Regions from separate parts of the Homo sapiens genome. Here all the other regions are linked to region 1. Evidence: promoter capture Hi-C in 16 types of primary human blood cells and fetal thymus (Javierre and others, 2016). All regions are on one chromosome and are shown on one strand. Each heading gives the region's core, a stretch centred on a gene start or on the middle of the fragment in contact. The rest is flanking DNA. Distances are from core to core; before and after follow the strand shown. Region 1 holds the start of OR7G1 (olfactory receptor family 7 subfamily G member 1). Region 2 overlaps COL5A3 (collagen type V alpha 3 chain). Region 3 overlaps LOC105372270 (a long non-coding RNA gene).

Evidence for each region. Contacts are between HindIII fragments. The CHiCAGO score rates a contact against its expected background, and 5 or more counts as called.
Region 2: a fragment that was not itself captured here is called in contact with the fragment with the promoter of OR7G1 in region 1 in 1 of 17 cell types (fetal thymus); the score reaches 5.3 in fetal thymus.
Region 3: a contact is called between a fragment that was not itself captured here and the fragment with the promoter of OR7G1 in region 1, in 2 of 17 cell types (erythroblasts and fetal thymus). The highest score is 6.0, in erythroblasts.

The regions. Positions count from the first base shown.
Region 1 is chr19:9,114,245-9,117,257 of GRCh38, reverse strand. OR7G1 (olfactory receptor family 7 subfamily G member 1) reads left to right here and starts at 1,495. Exons shown (of 1, transcript NM_001005192.2): 1 at 1,495-2,430. The coding sequence starts at 1,495. The coding sequence ends at 2,430. The HindIII fragment of the contact is 3,860 bases long and covers 1-2,394 here.
Region 2 is chr19:9,981,505-9,984,517 of GRCh38, reverse strand. It overlaps COL5A3 (collagen type V alpha 3 chain), which reads left to right. Exons shown (of 67, transcript NM_015719.4): 32 at 2,400-2,453. Among named protein-coding and RNA genes, the nearest start is that of COL5A3, 27 kb to the left of the region's middle. The HindIII fragment of the contact is 1,596 bases long and covers 697-2,292 here.
Region 3 is chr19:9,710,957-9,713,969 of GRCh38, reverse strand. The region is part of intron 1 of LOC105372270 (a long non-coding RNA gene); the gene reads right to left. Among named protein-coding and RNA genes, the nearest start is that of ZNF562, 37 kb to the right of the region's middle. The HindIII fragment of the contact is 3,459 bases long and covers 1-3,013 here.

The DNA.
Region 1 (3,013 bases), core at 246-2,745:
TATGGAGACCATCCTGGCTAACGCAGTGATACCCGTCTCTACTAAAAATACAAAAAATTAGCCGGCCGTGGTGGCGGGCGTCTGTAGTCCCAGCTACTCAGGAGGCTGAGGCAGGAGAATGGCGTGAACCTGGGAGGCGGAGCTTGCTGTGAGCCGAGATCGTGCCACTGCACTCCAACCTGGGCGACAGAACGAGACACTGTCTCAGGAAAAAAAAAAAAATCTATCTGTAATTCTGAGAGAATAGTAACATGATAAAACCGCATATACCTATCTGGCATTAAAAATAAGTTAATGTCATCACCATAGAACCTACCTGTAGGATTTTCTACTCAAATCACCTTGTTTTCTTCCAGCAACAAATACACTATCCTGAATTCTGTAGTTACCATTTTCTTTGAAAACAGGATGACTGTTATAAAATTCTCTGTAATTTACTTGCAGTCTTGTGGGGGAGAGGAGGTGAGCAGCTTGCTAAACTTCACCTTATCTTCACTTTCCTGTGGTGTTTTTTTTTTTTTTAATGGAGTTTTGCTCCGTTGCCCAGGCTGGAGTATAATGGCATGATCTCAGCTCACTGCAACCTCCGCCCCCTGGGTTCAAGCGATTCTCCTTTCCTGGTTCTTGACACAGCTTTGTATTATTTCTGTTGGCTGGCGTGAAGTCTCTGGGGGTCCAGACAGAGTCTTCCAGCCGTTTTCCTGGTATGTACTTTGTTTTATTTTATTTATTTTTTGTTTTTTCATTACCAAATATTTTTAATAATCAGAACAGCAGAGTGGTGGCACATGCCTGTAATCCCAGCTACTCAGGAGGCTGAGGAAGGAGAATCGCTTGAACCTGGGAGGCGGAGGTTGCAGTGAACCAAGTTTGTGCCACTGCACTCCAGCCTGGGCAACAAGAGCGAAACTCCATCTCAAAAAAAAAAAGATGAGGCTGGGCGTGGTGGCTCACGCCTGTAAACCCAGCATTTTGGGAAGCCAAGTTGGGCAGATCACTTGAGGCCAGGCATTTGAGAGCAGCCTGGCCAACATGGCAAAACCCCGTCTCTACTAAAAATACAAAAATTAGCCAGGTGTTGTGGCAAGCATCTTTAATCCCAGCTACTTGGGAGGCTCAGGCAGGAGAATTGCTTGAAACCAGGAGGCAGAGGTTGCAGTGAGCCAGGATCAAGCCACTGCACTCCAGCCTGGCCACAGAGCAAGACTCTGTCTCAAAAATAAATAAATAAATTTAAAAAATAAATAAATAAAAATAAAAAATGATGACCCCTTAACCATTTCCAGAATTAACAATTATTGATGCTGTGCTGTATTAGCTTCAAGTTTTGTAAAAGCAGTAAAGTAATATCAATACAAAAGGCAACACTTATTTATTTTCTTCCCTTAGAATCTACCCCTTTTCAAGATGGTGTTTGCCTCTGTTGACGTTGCTCCCGCAGTCTAGAAAACACATTTGATTGTCTAATTATCCCATTTTTTGATCATCAAAAACATGGGACCCAGAAACCAAACAGCTGTTTCAGAATTTCTTCTCATGAAAGTGACAGAGGACCCAGAACTGAAGTTAATCCCTTTCAGCCTGTTCCTGTCCATGTACCTGGTCACCATCCTGGGGAACCTGCTCATTCTCCTGGCTGTCATCTCTGACTCCCACCTCCACACCCCCATGTACTTCCTTCTCTTTAATCTCTCCTTTACTGACATCTGTTTAACCACAACCACAGTCCCAAAGATCCTAGTGAACATCCAAGCTCAGAATCAGAGTATCACTTACACAGGCTGCCTCACCCAGATCTGTCTTGTCTTGGTTTTTGCTGGCTTGGAAAGTTGCTTTCTTGCAGTCATGGCCTACGACCGCTATGTGGCCATTTGCCACCCACTGAGGTACACAGTCCTCATGAATGTCCATTTCTGGGGCTTGCTGATTCTTCTCTCCATGTTCATGAGCACTATGGATGCCCTGGTTCAGAGTCTGATGGTATTGCAGCTGTCCTTCTGCAAAAACGTTGAAATCCCTTTGTTCTTCTGTGAAGTCGTTCAGGTCATCAAGCTCGCCTGTTCTGACACCCTCATCAACAACATCCTCATATATTTTGCAAGTAGTGTATTTGGTGCAATTCCTCTCTCTGGAATAATTTTCTCTTATTCTCAAATAGTCACCTCTGTTCTGAGAATGCCATCAGCAAGAGGAAAGTATAAAGCGTTTTCCACCTGTGGCTGTCACCTCTCTGTTTTTTCCTTGTTCTATGGGACAGCTTTTGGGGTGTACATTAGTTCTGCTGTTGCTGAGTCTTCCCGAATTACTGCTGTGGCTTCAGTGATGTACACTGTGGTCCCTCAAATGATGAACCCCTTCATCTACAGCCTGAGAAATAAGGAGATGAAGAAAGCTTTGAGGAAACTTATTGGTAGGCTGTTTCCTTTTTAGCGATCTTTGTCCTCTGCTTTGAATTGGAGCTTCTAAAATAAATCATCATAACAGGATTCCTTGGTAAGCCAGAGTGCCTGACTCTTGCATCGAGATTTACTTTTTTTTTTTTTTTTCGAGGCAGAATCTCGCTCTGTCGCCCAGGCTGGAGTACAGTGGCACGATCTCGGCTCACTGCAAACTCCGCCTCCCGGGTTCATGCAATTCTCCTGCCTCGGCCTCCCGAGTAGCTGGGATTACAGGCACACACCACCACACCTGGATTTTTTTTGTATTTTTAGTAGAGATGGGGTTTCACCAGGTTGGCCAGGGTGGTCTCGAACTCCTGACTTCAGGTAATCCACCCACCTCGGCCTCCCAAAGTGCTGGGATTACAGGCATGAGCCACTATGCCTGACCTACTTTCTTTTTTGTGATCTTTGTGCTCTGCTTTGAACTGAAGCTTCTAAAAGGAATCAACATGACAGGATTCCTTGGTAAGCCAGAGTGCCTGACTCTTGCATCATGAAGATTTTCTTTTTCTTTCTTTCTTTTTTTTTTTTTTTGTGACAGAGTCTCGCTCTGTCACCCAGGCTGGAGTGCA
Region 2 (3,013 bases), core at 245-2,744, 870 kb before region 1:
CTTGAATTAATTATAACTTATAGTCAAATGTACTTATGCAAAAACGTACTTATATGAAAACATAACATTTGTTTGCCAATGTTTTGATGGGTGAGGACACTGATGAGATTCATTTTTCTGCCTAAACTATTCCCATATTATATCACTGATGAGTTCTGTTTCTCTAGAGTAGAGCAGGAACCTAAAGACATTTGGGGCTGGGCGCAGTGGCTCATGGCTGTAATCCCAGCACTTTGGGAGGCCGAGGCGAGTGGATCACCTGAGGTCGAGAGTTCACCACCAGCCTGGCCAACATGGCAGAACCCCATCTCTACTAAAAATACAAGAATTAGCTGGGTGCAGTGGCGGGTGCCTGTAATCCCAGGTACATGGAGGCTGAGGCAGGAGAATTGCTTGAGCCCGGGAAGCAGAGGATGCAGTGAGCTGAGATCGTGCCACTTACTCCACCCTGGGCAACAGAGTGAGACTCTGTCTCAAAAGAAAAAAAAAATAGACATTTGGGAAGATAATTGAGTGCAGAATCCTCCTAGAGTTTCACATTTTTGTGCTGTTGAGCTGATAGTTATCTTGCCTACGTTGGATTTGACAGTGGTTTTTTTTTTTTATTTTTTCAGTGATTTCCCTTTACATTGACTCCTTTTCCTTTAACTTAGATTTTTTTTTCTTTTTAACGATTGAGAAAAAAACTTTGAAGCTTAGTTTTGATGGACAACTTTATTCTCCTTCCTTCCTTCCTCCTTTCTTCCTTCCTTCCTTTCTTCCCTCCCTCCCTCACTGCGTCCCCCTCTTTTTTCTTTTCTTTTCCTTCTTTTTTCTCTTTCTTTCCTTCTTTCTTTCTTCTTTTTTCTTTCTTTCTTTCTGTCTGTCTTTCTTTCTCTCTCTCTCTTCTTTCTTTCTTTCTCTCTCTCTCTCTTTCTCTTTCTTTCTTTCTTTCTTTCTTTCTTTCTTTCTTTCTTTCTTTCTTTCTTTCTTTCTTTCTTTCTTTCTTCTTTCTTTTTGCTTGCTTGCTTGCTTTCCTTTCAGACAGGGTGTCACTCTGTCATTCAGGCTGGAGTGCAATAGTGCGATCATAGCTTATTACAGCCCCCAATTCTTGGACTCAAGCAGTCCTCCTGCCTCAGCCTCCTGAGTAGCTGGGAACAACAGGTGCGCACCACCTGATGAATTTTTAAATTTTTTACAGAGACAGGGTCTCGCTATGCTGCCCAGGCTGATCTCAAACTCCCAGCTTCAAGTGATTCTCCTACCTTGGCCTCCCAAAGTGCTGGGATTACAAGCATAAGCCACTGTACCTGACATAGACTAAGATTTTAGAAAGTCCTTGTGTGCATGTGTTCAGGATCCTTGAAGAGTGTTGGGGCCAGGTTGGTGGCTCACACCTGTAATCTCAGCACTTTCAGAGGCTGAGGTAGGAGAATCACTAGAGGCCGGGAGTTCAAGACCAGCCTGGGCAACATAGTGAGACCCCATATCTACTAAAAATTTATTTCAAAAATTAGCTGGACATGGTGGCGTGAACCTGTAGTCCCAGCTATTCAGGAGGTTGAGGTAGGAGGATCACTTGAGCCCAAAAGGTTGAAGCTGCAGTGAGCTATGATTGCACCACTGCACTCCAGCCTGGGTGACAAAGTGAGACTCTGTCTCTTAAAAATAAAACAAACAAAAAAAGAGTATAGAGACCATGGAACCCCCAGATGGGAAGGGAGAGTAGAGGGAGCCTGAAATGGGCTTTGAGGCGGGATGCCACCACAGACTGTGTAACTTGGGCAACTGTCTTTTCTGATCTGAACTCAGTCTGCACAGTGAGGTGTGGGAGAGGATATCAGAGCCTGTGATGTCTTCCCCCAGGTGGAGGAAGGGTTCCTCCAGCATGGACTGGAGTCAGTTAACAAATATTAAAAAGCACTCACCGTGTGCCAGGCAGTGGGGAATAAGACCAATGAGCTATGTCACAGTGGGGGAAAACAGGCATTGAATAAATAAGTCAATAAGGGTCATTTCAACGCAAGTGTTCTTGGGAAAACAAAATAGCATAATGTGACAGACAGAGGGTGACTTGGGCAATGTGGAAGCCAGGATGGTGGTAGAAAGGCATTCTAAGGAGGTGACATCTGAATGAGATCTAAATGGTCAGGAGTGGCTGACTTTGTGGAGGCCTAGGAGACAAGCATTTCAGCCAAAGACAGCAGCCAGTGCAAAGGGCTGCAGTGAAATGAGAAGGGAGGAGAGGAGGGGAGAGGAGAGAAGAGGGCTGCCTTGTAGGAGGCTGGGGCTGTAGAGACCAAGGAAGCTTCTGGAATCAGTGACCTGGAAATGCCTCAAAGGATGGTATGAGGGGCCAATTCCACCCACCACTCACTCCTCACCCTCATGTCTTCTTTCTAATTCTCTCCACTCAGGGATCTATTGGATTTCCCGGTCCCCTGGGACCCATAGGAGAGAAAGGGAAGTCGGTGAGTCATGACCGGGGGTAAGGGAGAGGGGAGAACTTGTCTGAGGGGAACAGCATGTGTGGTTGTGTCTGATGATGGGTGGACCCTGGGTGTTTGTGTCTATGCCTGGAACATTTGTGTGCACACATGCTATTATATGCAATGCATGACACATGTAGGTGATTACACATGGTATTATCATGAATATGACTGTAAGCACATGTATATGTGTTTCATGTATCTTTCAATATCGATGAGACAGGGTTTGAATGCCGCAGCCTGCAGGCCTGTGCCTGGGTGAACAAGGGCATGAATCTGCGTGCACTTTGCATGATGGTGGGCATAAATGTGTGCAAGAAGCTTGTACATATGCGTGAAAGGACATGTGTATACACATGTGTGTGTTTCTGTGCACACTGAGTGATGGGTATACATGCATGTATTGTATTTGTGTTGCTATGTGTGTATTGTAACAGTGTTAATGAACATTGTATGTACGTACATGAGTGTATGTATACTGCTGTGCTTACCAAGACAAAGTCCTCAGCTGAATCCAGGCCTTCATGTGTTTACAGTGGGTA
Region 3 (3,013 bases), core at 162-2,661, 600 kb before region 1:
CCTAGATGCTAATGCAGTATCTAATGTTAGACATTTTCACAATTTAACCCATGTTAATGCCTCTGGTCTCAAACGCAGATACAGAATTACCAGGAAAGAAGCTAAAAATATTATCCAGTGATGCCCAACTTGCCAAATGGTACATTCCTCATCTTTTACAGGAGGAGTTATTCCTTGAGGATTGGAACCTAACTCTTTTTGGCAAATGGATGTCACACATGTTCCTTCGTTTGGGAGACTAGCTTATATATGTGTATGTGTGGACACCTTTTCTCACTTTATATGGGCTACATGCTAATCAGGAGAGTGTTTGGCCTGTCTGAAACATCATCTTTTGCAGTGTTTTGTGGTGATGGGCATTCCAGCTTCTATTAAAACAGATAATGCCCCAGGATATACTAGCCAATCTCTAGCTACATTTTTCTCTATGTGGAGTATTAAACACATTACTGGTATCCCATACAATTCTCAAAGACAAGCCATAGTGGAAAGAATGAATCTCTCCCTAAAACAGCAGTTGCAAAAGCAGAAAAGGGGAGACGGAGAATATGGAACCACACAGATACAACTGAATCTAACATTATTAACATTAAATTTTTTGAACCTGCCCAAAGGCCAGATGTTATCAGCAGCTGAACAGCATCTACAGAAACCAGCTGCAAAGACAGAAACAGAACAACTGATTTGGTGGAGAGATCCAATAATAAAAAGATGGGAAATAGGTAAAATAATAACTTAGGGTAGAGGTTATGCTTGTGTTTCTCCAGGCCAAAATCAACAGCCAATTTGGATACCATCAAGACACCTGAAACCTTATCATGAGCCAGATGCCGAGGAAGAGACTCCGGGAGGATCCCAAGGACCCCCCAGTTGCAGCCATGTCAAGACTGATGCTGAGGAGGACCCCAACTGTCACGAGTAACACCCGTTGAACACAGCCACCCACCTGGGGACAGATCAAGAAGCTGTCACAGATGGTGGAAGAAAAACTGAGGAAAGTGGGACAACCAGTCACAATGAATAATTTAATGGTAGCTATCATAGTGGTTATCACCACTGCTGTGAGTATTCCTTCAATAAGAGCTGACACAGAGAACAATTATACTTATTGGGCATATTGATCAATCTTGGCTGGCAATAATGCCTGGATGCAATCACTCTATGACCCAGTTACACATGCTTTCTGATCTCAGTATTTACCATAATAAATCTGCTCCTATAATTGAGGCATACCACCCTCAAAAACCTATTTGTAAACAGGATTGGACCCAGTTAGAAAAAATGAATGTGCTTGTTTAGGAAAATTGCATTGCAGAACAGGTAGAGGTGCTACACAATGATTCCTATGGAATCTTTATTGATTGGTCCCCTAAGGGGATGTTTAGCTTGAATTGCACCTCTCAGTCTGCATGCCCCAGCCACACTATGTTCAGCTGGTCTGAACAAAATGGTCAGATGGTAGAAATGATAAGAAGTACAACAAGAGTTCCTATTATCTGGAACCATAGCAGTATAGTGGCACTTCAACCTCAAATGATATGGCTCATTGTAGGAGCTAAACATTAAGGATTTGTGGAAACTATTAATAGCTCTTAATAAGATCACAATTTTGGAAAGAATAAAAAAGTATCTAAAAGGACACTCTACAGACTTGTTTTTGGATATTGCAAAATTAAAAGAACAGATTTTAAAACATCCCAGGCACACCTGACCTTAATGCCAGGAACTGGGGTGCTTAAAGGAGCTGCAGACAAATTAGCAGCTAGTAACCCATTAAAATGGATAAAAACACTTGGAAGCTCTGTAATTTCAATGATGATTGTGCTTTTAATCCATGTTATTTATCTTTGTATAGTCTTCAGATGCAGATCCTGACTCCTATGAGAAGTAGCTCACCATGACAAAGCTCCTTTGCTTTTATCAATCTGCAAATCAAAGAAGGGGGACATGTTGGGAGCAGGCCTCCCAAAATCTGGCCATAAACTGGCTCCAAAACTGGCTATAAACAAAATCTCTGCAGCACAGTAACATGTTCATAATGGCCCCAATGCCCGCTCTGGAAGGTTGGGGGTTTACCGGAATGAGGGCAAGGAATACCTGACCCGCCCAGGGTGGAAAACTGCTTAAAGGCATTCTTAAGCCACAAACAATATCATGAGTGATCTGTGCCTTAAGGACATGCTTCTGCTGCAGTTAACTAGCCCAACCTATTCCTTTAATTTGGCCCATCCCTTCATTTCCCATAAGGGATACTTTTAGTTAATTTAACATCTATAGAAACAATGCTAATGACTGGTTTGCTGTTAATAAATACGTGGGTAAATCTCTGTTTGGGGCTCTCAGCTCTGAAGGCTGTGAGACCCCTGATTTCCCACTTCACACCTCTATATTTCTGTGTGTGTGTCTTCAATTCTTCTAGCGCTACTGGGTTAGGGTCTCCCTGACCGATCTGGTCTCAGCATTCTCTCCCTCACACTCAGTCTCTTCCTCTTTCTCACTTGGGACATTGTCTTTTAAAGTGACCTATTTTTTCACATTTGAAACAATTTTTCTGTCTTTTTTTTTTCTTCCTTTGAGTCTCCTGGCTTTACTCTTTCATACATTTTATATCACCTGGACAGTGGTGGTCTAGGTTCTTTATATGTCTGGCTCCCTTGGTACTTTGTTGTATGGTGGACAGCAAGATTTTTGCCTTTTGCTTTTGTTTTTCTTTTTCTCTTCTTACATATACTGTTTGGGATTTTTTTTTTTTTGAGACAGAGTTTCACTCGTTGCCTGGGCTGGAGTGCAGTGGTGTGATCTCAGCTCCTGCAACTTCTGCCTCCTGGGTTCAAGTGATTCTCCTGCCTCAGCCTCCCAAGTAGTTGGGATTACAAGCAAGTGCCACCATGCCTGGGTAATTTTGTAACTTTAGTAGAGATGGGGTTTCTCCATTTTGGTTAGGCTGGTCTTGAACTCCTGACCTCGGGTGATCTGCCTGCCTTGGCCTCCCAAAGTGCTGAGATTTCAGGCA